Linked DNA regions of Homo sapiens: region 2 is linked to region 1. Evidence: promoter capture Hi-C in 16 types of primary human blood cells and fetal thymus (Javierre and others, 2016). All regions are on one chromosome and are shown on one strand. Each heading gives the region's core, a stretch centred on a gene start or on the middle of the fragment in contact. The rest is flanking DNA. Distances are from core to core; before and after follow the strand shown.

Region 1 (5,439 bases), core at 1,856-4,355:
ATGTTGGTGGGGCCTGCTGGGAGGTGTTTGGATCATGGGTGTAGATTTTTCATGAATGGTTTAGCACCATCTCCTTGGTGATGAATAAGTTCGAGCAAGATCTGGTTGTTTAAAAATATGTGGCACTGACCAGGCATGGTGGCTCATGCATGTCATCTCAACACTTTGGGAGGCTGAGGTGGGCAGATCACCTGAGGTCAGGAGTTCGAGACCAGCCTGACCAACAGGGAGAAACCCTGTCTCTACTAAAAATACAAAATTAGCCAGGTGTGGTGGTGCATGCCTGTACTCCCAGCTATTCGGGAGGCTGAGGCAGGAGAATCACTTGAACCTGGGAAGCGGAGGTTGCGGTGAGCCGAGATCATGCCATTGTACTCCAGCCTGAGTAACAAGAGCAAAACTCCATCTCAAAAAAAAAATGTGTGGCCTCTGTCCCTCCACCAGCTCTCTCTTTCTCAGCTGTCACCATGTGGCATGCCTGCTCCTGCTTTGCCTTCTACCATGAATAAAAGCTCCCTGAGGGCCTCACCAGAAGCTGAGCAGATGTCGGTGCCATGCTTGTACAACTAGCAGAACCAGGAGCCAATTAAACCTTTTTTATTTATAAATTACCCAGCCTCAGATATTTCTTTATGGCAACACAAAAAATACAGAAAACTGTACCAGGAATGGTATGTTGCTATAAAGTCACCTGAAAATGTGGAGGTGACTTTGGAACTGGGTAATGGCCAGAGATTGGAAGATTTTTGGAGGGCTCAGAAGAAGACAGAAAGATGAGGAAAAGGTGGGAACTCCTTTGAGACTGGTTAAATGGTTGTGTCCAAAATAATTAAAGTGATAAGAACAATGAAGTCCAGCCTGATGAGGTCTCAGATGGAAATGAGGAACTTACTGAAAACTAAAACAAAGATCACTTGTGTTACACCTTGGCAGAGAGCTTGACCATATTGTGCTTCATGCCCTAGGGGGCTCTGAAAATTTCTACTTAGGAGTGATGACTTAGGATATCTAGTGGAAGAAATTTCTAAGCAGCAAACATTCAAGCTGTGGCCTGACTGAATCTAACATCGTATTCTCACATGCAAGAGCACATAAATGAATTAAAGTTGGAATTTATATTTAAAAGGGAATCAAAGTGTAAAAGTTTGGAAACTTTGCAGCATGGCCATGTGGCAGAGAATGAAAAAGCATTATCAGGAGAGGAATCCAAGCAGGCTATAGAGCAACCACCTGCTAGAGATATTAGCATGACTCAAAAAACAAACAAAAAAACCCAAGTGCTAATAGCCAACACAATTGGAAAAGACTTCAAATGCATTTCAAAAGTGTTTGAGACAGCCCCTCTCATCACTGACCTAGAGGTCTAGGAGGACACCATGGTTTCAGGGGCTCACCCCAGGCCCTCACTGCCCTGCATAGCCTTGGAGCACTGCTCCCCACACATAGGCTACTCCAGCTCCAGCCTCAGCTCAAAAGACCCCAAATGTAACTCTGGCTTCAGAGGGTGCAAGCCATAAGCCTTGGTAGCTCCCATGTGGTGTTAAGCCTGTAGGTGCGTAGAATACAAGAGTGAAGGAGGCTTGGGATCCTCTACCTAGATTGCAGAGGATTTATGAGAAAGCCTGGGCACTCAGGCAGAAGCCTGCTGCAGGGGCAGAGCCCGCACAGAGGATATATACTAGGGCAGTGTAGAGGGGAAATGTGGAGTAGGAGGCCCACACAGAGTCCCCACTGGGGCATTGCTTAATTGAGCTGTGGGGAGGAGGACACCATCCTCCAGGCCCCAGAATGGTAGAGCCACTGGCAGCTTACATCTTGAGCATGGAGAAGCTGCAGGCACACAACTCCAACCCATGAGAGCAGCTGCAGGGTGCGAACCTTGCAAAGCCACAAGGGTGGAGTTCCCCAAGGCCTTAGGAGCCCACCCCTCACTCCAGTGTACCCTGGATGTGGGACTGGGAGTCCAAGGACATTATTTTGGAGCTTTAAGATTTAATGGCTGCCCTGCTGGATTTCAGACATGCATGGGGTCTGTAGCCCCTTCCTTTGGGCTGATTTCTCCCTTTTGGAATGGGAATGTTTACCCAATGCCTCCACCCTCATGTATCTTCAAAGTAAATAATGTGTTTTGATTTTCACAAGTTCATTGGTGGAAGGGACTTGGACTTGGGACTTTGGACTTGATGTTGGAATGAGTCAAGACATTGAGAGGACTGTTGGGAAGAGATGATTCTATTCTGCAATGTAAGGACATGAGATTTGAGGGGTCAAGGGGATAATGATACAGTTGGGATGTCCCCTCCAAATCTCTTGTCGAAATGTAATCCCCAGTGTTGAAGGAGGGGCCTGCAAGGAGGTGTTTAGGTCATGGGGGCGGATCCCTCATGACTGGCTTAGCGCCATCTCCTTGGTGATGAGTGTGTTCACTCAGATCTGGTTGTTCGCAAGTGTGTGGCCCCTCCTCACCCCTTGCTCCCACTCTCACGATGTGGTGAGCCTGCTCCTGCTTCACCTTCCACCATGAGGAAAAGCTCCCTGAGGGCCTGCCCAGAAGCTGAGCAGAGGTGGGTGCCATGCTTGTGCAGCCTGCAGAACCATGAGCCATTCTAACCTTTCCTTTATAAATTACCCAGCTTCAAGTATTTCTTTAGAGCAATGCAAAACTGAGAATGGCATGAGTAAAATATAAAGACCATGGATAATTTTGAAATCTAAAAATGTGAAATTAATATTCCTGGGGGAGTCAACACAGGAAAGATGAGAGCACGTGGGCAAAGGCTGTTGCCCATTGGTCACATGTGGTCAGCAGAGAGCAGGTGACCAGCACCCTGGAGCTTTGCGGGAAGCACCAGACAGCCTGGAGCTGAGGTTTCAATTGTAGGGGCCAAAACAAATAGGGAAAAAGACAAATTTAGTAAACAAAGAAAGTAGATGCTCAACTGAGCCAGGAGGAAGTCACTAGCAAAGAGGAAAAAAAATAGAGCTCTGGAAAAATAGCGTAAACAGTCACAAGGAAGCGACCCTGTATTGTGCCTGACCTCTGGACAGGTATATAAAGAGCCCGGGCTCAGGGGGCTCCACACCTGCACCTCCCTCTCACCTGCTCCTCTACCTGCTCCACCCTCAATCCACCAGAACCATGGGCTGCTGTGGCTGTTCCGAAGGCTGTGGCTCCGGCTGTGGGGGCTGTGGCTCCGGCTGTGGGGGCTGTGGCTCTGGCTGTGGGGGATGTGGCTCCAGCTGCTGTGTGCCCGTCTGCTGCTGCAAGCCCGTGTGCTGCTGTGTGCCAGCCTGTTCCTGCTCCAGCTGTGGCTCCTGTGGGGGCTCCAAGGGAGGCTGTGGCTCCTGTGGGGGCTCCAAGGGGGGCTGTGGCTCTTGTGGGGGTTCTAAGGGGGGCTGTGGTTCTTGTGGCTGCTCCCAGTGCAGCTGCTATAAGCCCTGCTGCTGCTCCTCAGGCTGTGGGTCATCCTGCTGCCAGTCCAGCTGCTGTAAGCCCTGCTGCTGCCAGTCCAGCTGCTGTAAGCCCTGCTGCTGTTCCTCAGGCTGTGGGTCATCCTGCTGCCAGTCCAGTTGCTGCAATCCCTGCTGCTCCCAGTCTAGCTGCTGTGTCCCCGTGTGCTGCCAGTGTAAGATCTGAGGCTCTGGACTCAGGTCTCATGTGAGTCCTGCTAACCCCATTTTCCGAAGCTGTGACCTGTCCTTCATCGTTGAGCCCCAAACCACTGCTCAGGGTCCATTCCTCACTATAAGATGAAGCCATATCTGCCTGCCTTTTCCTAAGGAGAGTCCACCCTAATTAATGTCCATTCCCTCCTAACAAATTCTCTTCCCAAGTCAACTGCAACTGCGGCTGAATCACCCCTCACCCGCTAGCCTTGCCTTTGCTTGTGTATTCAGAGGCCTGAGCTCCTGAACCCACTTGAAGTCCTGTCTTTTCCAGCTGGAGCAGCTGGGCATGAGTGTCCCACCTGCAACAAGGTGGGCGTTTAAGAGGCTTCCTTGGAGTGGCTTTGCCTGTCCAACACTCTGCTTTATCTTAAATGAAAAGTTGCAAACTAATAAAAATACCATGCCGACAAACTGAAACACATATCTTGCTGATTTCTCTGTTGTTCGGGGTCATTACTATGGCTATGGCTATTGTTTTCTTGTTCTTGTTGTGTTTCGGACTGCGTGGGTCTGATGCTGATGTTGCTGGAAGGTGCTAGGATGGGGCTGGCTGTCTCCTCTGCCTCTCATCTCCTTCCTGGCTGACCCCTCTTTTCTCAGAACCCCTCTCTTCCTAGGTCTTTCCAGCTATTGATCTGATGGAGACAGGACTGTTCCTCAGGCCAGGGCCACAGAAGCAGAAGAGGCTGCTGAAAACTCTGGGGAGTTCAGACTTGCCTCCTTTCCCTGGTCCAGGCCTCTGCCATCTTCCTTTGGGAAGTTTTTGTAACCAACTTACTCTGATTGTCTTTGTTGTTACACAGCCTGTTGCCTCTGTAAATAAACACTCCTAGCACCAAGCCAATATTGCTTTTTAAGAATTTTGAAAGGGCCGGGCGTAGTGGCTCACGCCTATAATCCCAGCACTTTGGGAGGCCGAGGCAGGCGGATCACTTGAGGTTAGGAGTTTGCGACCTGACTGGCCAACATGGTGAAACCCTGTCTCTACTAAAAATATAAAAATTAGCTGAGTGTGGTGGCACGTGTCTGTAATCCTGGCTACTTCGGAGGCTGAGGGAGGAGAATGGCTTCAACCTGGGAGGGGGAGGTTGTGATGAGTCGAGGTCGCGCCACTGCACTCCATTCTGGGCGACAGAGCAAGACTCCGTCAAAAAAAAAAAAAGGCAATATTAATAGAGTTGAATTATTTCAAGTTATTTGGAAACACAGCAATTTATTGGTGGGATATGTCCTAAGCATAGAAAGAACACAAAAATAAAATTCCTAAGCTATTTTTAGTAGTCATGGTGGCAGCAGTGGTGTCGTTATTCTGCTGTGAATGCTGTATGGAAAAAGCAAATGCATAATTAGGTTGGTATCAGAACTAGAATTTTTGGTGTGGAACTGATGAGGTTAAGTAAAAACCTTGTCATCCTGAATTTGAATTAGATATATCGATATGAAATCATGATGTTTTTTATCCAAATAAAAATAGTTTCCTCCTCCATTGGAAGACTTAGAAATAATGAGCCATCCTGTAGCAGTGAACACTCCTAGCACCAAGACTGTTTGTTATCTTCAAATGCTATTTATTGTATCTACCTGGAACCTGGCTTCTCTGGTGAATGGGCTGGAAGCGAACAAGACAAATCTAGAACATCTTGTTATCCCAGAAAGCAGAGATGATAACTAAGACTAATGCAGTCACATCAAAAGAACTAAAGAGTCAGCCGGGCAAGGTGGCTCATGCCTGTAATCCCAGCATTTTGGGAGGCTGAGGCGAGTGGATCA
Region 2 (5,439 bases), core at 1,639-4,138, 270 kb before region 1:
GGGATCCCAGAACTCTCTCGTCTGCAACTCTGTTACGTATTTGGAAGTAAGGCAAGTATGCTAAAGCACTGCCTTCCTATAAAGAGCCATTTTTAGGAGTGTGTTTCTGTATACTGGTTAATTCCCGGCCCGTTTTTCTCTCCCATCCTTTTCCTCGTCACTAATGAAATATAAAATGCAATGCGGTCTCAGAATCCCTTTACCTTCCTCTGGGCAGCACTCACATCTGATATCACCTGGCTCCCCAAGCCCAGGCCTAGACCAAGACCCCTAGAAGCCAGCATGGCCCTGCATACAACCCTAAGCACCTGAATGAAGAAATGAATGAATGAAAATCTTGAAACTCACCCAAATAGGAATACGGTTTTCTATAGCAGACTGTACTTGGAGACAGTACACAGAAAGATCCCCCCAACAGACCGCCCCCCTCCCCGGGGGTGGGGGGGAATCTAATTTGTTAAAAGCAGCCAAGTGCTGTCAACCGAGCCCTCTGGGATCATCTTTATAGGTGAAATCACCTACTTGTAAAGAGTTACCTTTGATACTTGAATTCCAACCTCCTTCCAAAGGGACCCAAAGAAGCACCAAGCTTTCCACCCAATTCTTCCTTCCAGGAAAACAAGGAATTCCTGGGTGTAATAATGGAATCAGAGGCCTTATATAGACAGTGCTTCCCAGGAGCTGAATCATTCAGGCACTACTGGGACACCCAGATTCCTATCAGGACAAGAGTCTCCCTCAAGCCCCCTCAGAGGACAGTGACATCCGGCATAGAAACCCACAGCTCCCACCTACCAATCCCCCTCTTAGAGCAGACACGACGGCTTTCCCTCAGAATTAACACTGAACCCAGATGGGGGCCGAGCTCGCTCTCCTCACTCCACCCCCACAGGCTCAACCCTATTAGGACCCTCAACCTTGTTTCCAACCCACAAGTAGTTGGAAAACTCCAAAAGCAATCGGCCCGGGGCTGTTCTGGACCTGCTGAACCCTCTGGGGCACCAGGCTCGGTTCCTAGTGCACAGAAGGGCGTCACTAACTATGTGATGCGGACCGCAGGGCACCGGGGTTAAGGCTGAATCTGCCAGGTCCTTTTCCAGGGGCGCAGAACTTCCCTTGTGGCTGGGTCGGCAAAACCGAGGCCCACATCCCAGATAGAGATCAAATCGCCCTCCCCCACCGGGGGACTTCCGAAATTACCTCTCTGGATCTGGAAGCTTAATTAGCTGATTGGCCTCATTAACGTTCGAACTTGAGTTTCAAACGAAAAAGAGGTCACTCAACTATCCAATTTACAACCTCGAATTTCCACCCGAAAACCACTTTATTTTCGGATGGCCTCTGAGGACGCCCAGGCCCCTGCCAGCAGCTGCCAGCCCCCGAGAGCCTTACGTACTTTCGCCTGACCCCCCCACCACCCACCCCTCACCTGCCTGGCTCGAGCGCCTTCTCAGTTCCAGGCGCCCCGAGCCCCTTTAAAAGATCGGCTGCGAAAACCCACGGTCACCTGCACCACCCTTTCTCCCTCTGGGTGCTCCAGCCCCACGGAAAGGCAAGCCTCGCCCACGCGCCCACCCACCTCGAGCAGGGTGTCCGCACGCAGACCCGCCTGGAGGGCGCCGCGCTGCACCCCCACGCCAAGCCCCAGAACCCTGGCGGCGAGGTCCACCCCAGCCCCCGCATCCCCCCGAACCCGGGCGGCGAGGCCCGCTGCGGTGGTCGCACCTGCTGGCTCAGTCCGGCGGCTCCAGCCCAAGTGACGAGTGCGCTGTCGGCGTCTCTGGGAGCGGTCCCCGCGCCTGGCGCCCGGGGCCGGGGCCACCCGGTGGAGGCGCCTGGGCCGCGGGCTGGGCGGGCGGAGCTGCCCGGCCGCCGGGGAGGAGGGATGCCCGGGCGAAAGTTGCCAGGGAAACTTGATCAACTCGAGCGCGCCGGTGCCAGCTTCCTGCATAATTCACGGACGGTGGCGGCCGGGCTGCGCCCGCCGGGTCTCCCTATCCCAGCTGGTGAGCACGGCGGGCCGGGGTCGGGCACCCGGCTGTGGCTCAGCGCGACCCCCGGGACCTGGGCGCCCGACCCGCCACCCCCGGGCCCGCACCAGGCGCGCCGGCCCCGGCCTCTCCGCGACAGCTGCTGCTGCCGCCGCGCGCGCCTGGATGGGAGCTCTGCGTGCAGGGCCAGGGTGACCGCAGCGGGGTCTCGGGGGACCTGGCGGCCACGGTTCGGGTCTCCGCCCCCGCGCGCCACCTGGCGGCCCCGCGCCGGCTCCTCCGCTGGGCTCGCTGGCCCGGGTCCTAGGGCTGGCGGGCGGTGACCCGGGGCAAGGAGACCCCGGGAGAGCGGGGGAGGTCGCGCCACACGCGCTGTTCCAGAGGAAGGGGCAGGACGCGCCAGAGACTACGTGGTCCATGCGCGCAGGAGATAAAGCGGGGGCTCCTTCCTGCGCTCTGCCCCCACGCCGCTTCCAAAGCTTTCGACACCGGCCCCTGCCCGGGAAGAAAGGCATGCAGGGGGAAGGGCTCTCTACGGAAAATCGACCCCCACCTGGACACGCGGCTCACTCCCCCCAGCGCCCACCTCTCCAGCCTCTCTGGGTCCAGGACTGCGCTTACCCGGTAGTTGGTGCTCCCGGAATCGAGATGCCCCCAAAATGCCGTCAGTGAGCAGGATCGGGTGCCCAAGGGCCACCTCCCGTCCTCCCCGGCCCGCGCCCTGCGTCCCCGGCCGCCGCCTCACCTGGCTCGGCGAGTCGGGGGCGGGTCCGAGCCCCCCGGGAGCGCCAGCGTCCGCGCACACCTGGATCGGCCGCGGGAACCCGAGCGGCGCCGCGCCCAGCCCCGCCGGAGCTCAGGAGCCGCCGCCGCGGCTCAGGTGCAGGGGGTGGGGAAGGACCCGGCCCCGCCCGGCGCGGGAGCTGGCTCCGGCGAGGGTGGGGGAGGGGCCCTCTCGCCGCCGAAAGGACGCGTGCGGCCCAGGACCCGCGGGCGACCCGACCTGGACCCCCACCCCCGCCCACGCCGCGGACCTCAGTCCCCCGCCCCGACCCCGCTCCCGCCCGCGGCTGCGGCTCGGGCGTGCGCGTGGGGTCTGTTGTGGCAACCCCGGGAGACCGCGGGGCGCCCTGGCCGCCTCTGCCCCGCCCCGGGCTGCGTGGCTCACGGACCTCCCCCTCCCTGGCCAAAGCCGGCGGACGAGAAAGTCCCTGATTTTTGTAAAGTCCGGTTCGGTCTGCACGGTTATCCCGAACGCAGCTGGCTCCCGCCACAGAGTATTTATAATAATAGGATTTGGAAATAGAGGCTGCCTGCACATCAAAACGTTTGCAGAGCAAACGAAAACTTTGTACCCGGGTGATACGCCGGCGTCTGCTGCCCAGGCCACCAGTTCTGGGGCGCCTTCCGCCCAGGGGTGCACAACGGTATCTCCGCCAGCTGCCCTCCAAGCCAAGAAAAGCCAGGGGGTGGGGTGGGGGGAGCAAAAGCCAACGGCTCGGGTGAATCCCAGAGGCCAAAGGCACCCTCCGGAGACTCCAGGAATCCTGTTATTATCCAGGACTCCGGATTGCTAGGTTTGCGGAAGCCCAAAGGGGCGGGTCCTGAGCTTGGAGCTGTGGCCGCCGTGTGAGCCATCGGCTGATAGATTTTCTCAAGGCCTTAATCATTCACTGGGAGTCTCCCCCAGTACGAGCTGCGTGTTTCTGAGTAAGCTCTTGAGGTCTCTGTGTTCTGAGTTTTCCAGTATTCTGGAAGGTGTGGGTGGGGATCAGAGTCCAAGCTGTGGAGTAGAACTGTCTCCAGAACCCTGGAGCCCGGCATTATGCAAACCCCTAACTGTGCCCCCTACATAGAGTGAGTGTGTGTGTGTGTGTGTGTGTAAGTCAGTCTATCTTACAGGACATGCCTGAGAGGTTTGCATGGGCTGGTGACTTCAACATACCAAAGGCAAAGTTAAATATTTGCTCTAGATACTTTTTTTTTTCAGCTTGCATAATTGTCCCACATTTCAAAGAAGTCTTTAAAAGCACTTAGGTTAAAAAAAAAAAAGTTGTGTTTGGGGCCTGAATATTTCAGGACACACATGGAATAAATATTGTAACTCCTTGAGGGCAGCTGCCTTATGTAAATGTCTTTCTCGTCGCTGCTTCCTTAAGCATACACTTGATAAAATATTTGTTGAATGAATAAAGGAGTCAATCAATCAAAAAATAATAATCCCCAAAACAGGAAGAAGGACGCCCTGACAGGATCCTGCAGGCATCCTTTGTTTGGCATGGAAGCTGGGGTGCCTGGGAGAGGTGTGAGCAGGACAATCGGATGTTCTTTGGGTTGGCCGGTGGCAGATGCAAGACCTGGGTTGCAGGGAGTGGGGGTGGGGGCTCTACCTTTCCATAACAGTCCATCAGTACCCTCCCCACCAAAGAAGGCAAGTCATCTGAATAAAGTGGTGTATTTACCCTGCAAACCCAGCTCAAAGACCTATCCTCAGGATATTTCCCTCCTCTCACCAGATTCCCACCCCTGGAACACCCCTTCCTAGGTTTCTAGAACCACTGCTGCAGATAGACCAGGCAGCTGGTCACAGTTCAATTGTGAACATTTTTCGGCTATCTCCATGCAAGGTTTAAGACCGATGCCATTATGCTATCTCCAAGAAATACTTCCCTAGGGACGCAGGCCTCTGCCAGCCTTCCACCCAAGTGGACACCCCTTGGGCCATCCCCCTCCAGTCTTTCTGATCTGTTAGCCAACAAGAGCGCTGTGTGAGAGCCCCGACATTCGGCATTTTAAGGACAGCATCCTGCTTACGCCCCAGTTTCTTTGTGTCTGTTTAGAGATATCCAGTTCAGCCTTGTGCTCCGATGAAGCAACATCCTTCAAGTCTGTAAAAATCTCTTATGATCCCAAAACAAAGAAAATCAAGGTTACAGGTGATGGATACACTAATTTCCCTAATTTGATCATTACACATTGCATACGTGTATCAACATCTCACACTGGACCCATAAATACGTACAATTATGTGTCAACTAAAAGTATTGACAGCCAAAAAAAAAGGCTCTTATGAAAAGGTTCAGGGTCAGATAATGCTGCCACAGTGCCTTTATTCACATCTTAACGCTCTGAGCGGGCATCTCAGGTTGAGGGGAACACCTACCCCCCGCCGCTCATTTGAAGTAGGACCTCTTTTGGCATTCTAATTTCTGGGGGGCCCATAGCCACACACACCACCAAGTGCCTTGTTTTAGGTTCAGTTTAGGAAAAGAAGACATGACCCTCCTGGCTTCCTGGTTTCAGAACCCTCCGGTTTTGTTTCTGGAAGCTGCCTTCCAGGATTCACCAGGTTTTGCAGAAAGGAGTAAGCTTTTCCATCTGGTCATCTTGTCTTTTTTTCTTGTCCAACCTGAACCATGAAACCATCAGCCACATCTGTGGAGTACAC

Evidence for each region. The method cuts DNA at HindIII sites, captures the fragments that hold promoters and counts their contacts. A CHiCAGO score of 5 or more calls a contact.
Region 2: a contact is called between the fragment with the promoter of SHANK2 here and the fragment with the promoter of KRTAP5-7 in region 1, in 9 of 17 cell types (total B cells, non-activated CD4 T cells, total CD4 T cells and 6 more). The highest score is 7.4, in total B cells.

What each region holds. Positions count from the first base shown.
Region 1 is chr11:71,524,162-71,529,600 of GRCh38, forward strand. KRTAP5-7 (keratin associated protein 5-7) reads left to right here and starts at 3,106. Exons shown (of 1, transcript NM_001012503.2): 1 at 3,106-4,508. The coding sequence starts at 3,140. The coding sequence ends at 3,637. RefSeq lists enhancers at 2,994-3,495, 3,496-3,995. The HindIII fragment of the contact is 23,305 bases long and covers 1-5,439 here.
Region 2 is chr11:71,249,689-71,255,127 of GRCh38, forward strand. It overlaps SHANK2 (SH3 and multiple ankyrin repeat domains 2), which reads right to left and starts at 2,889. Exons shown (of 26, transcript NM_012309.5): 1 at 2,737-2,889. The HindIII fragment of the contact is 2,890 bases long and covers 2,469-5,358 here.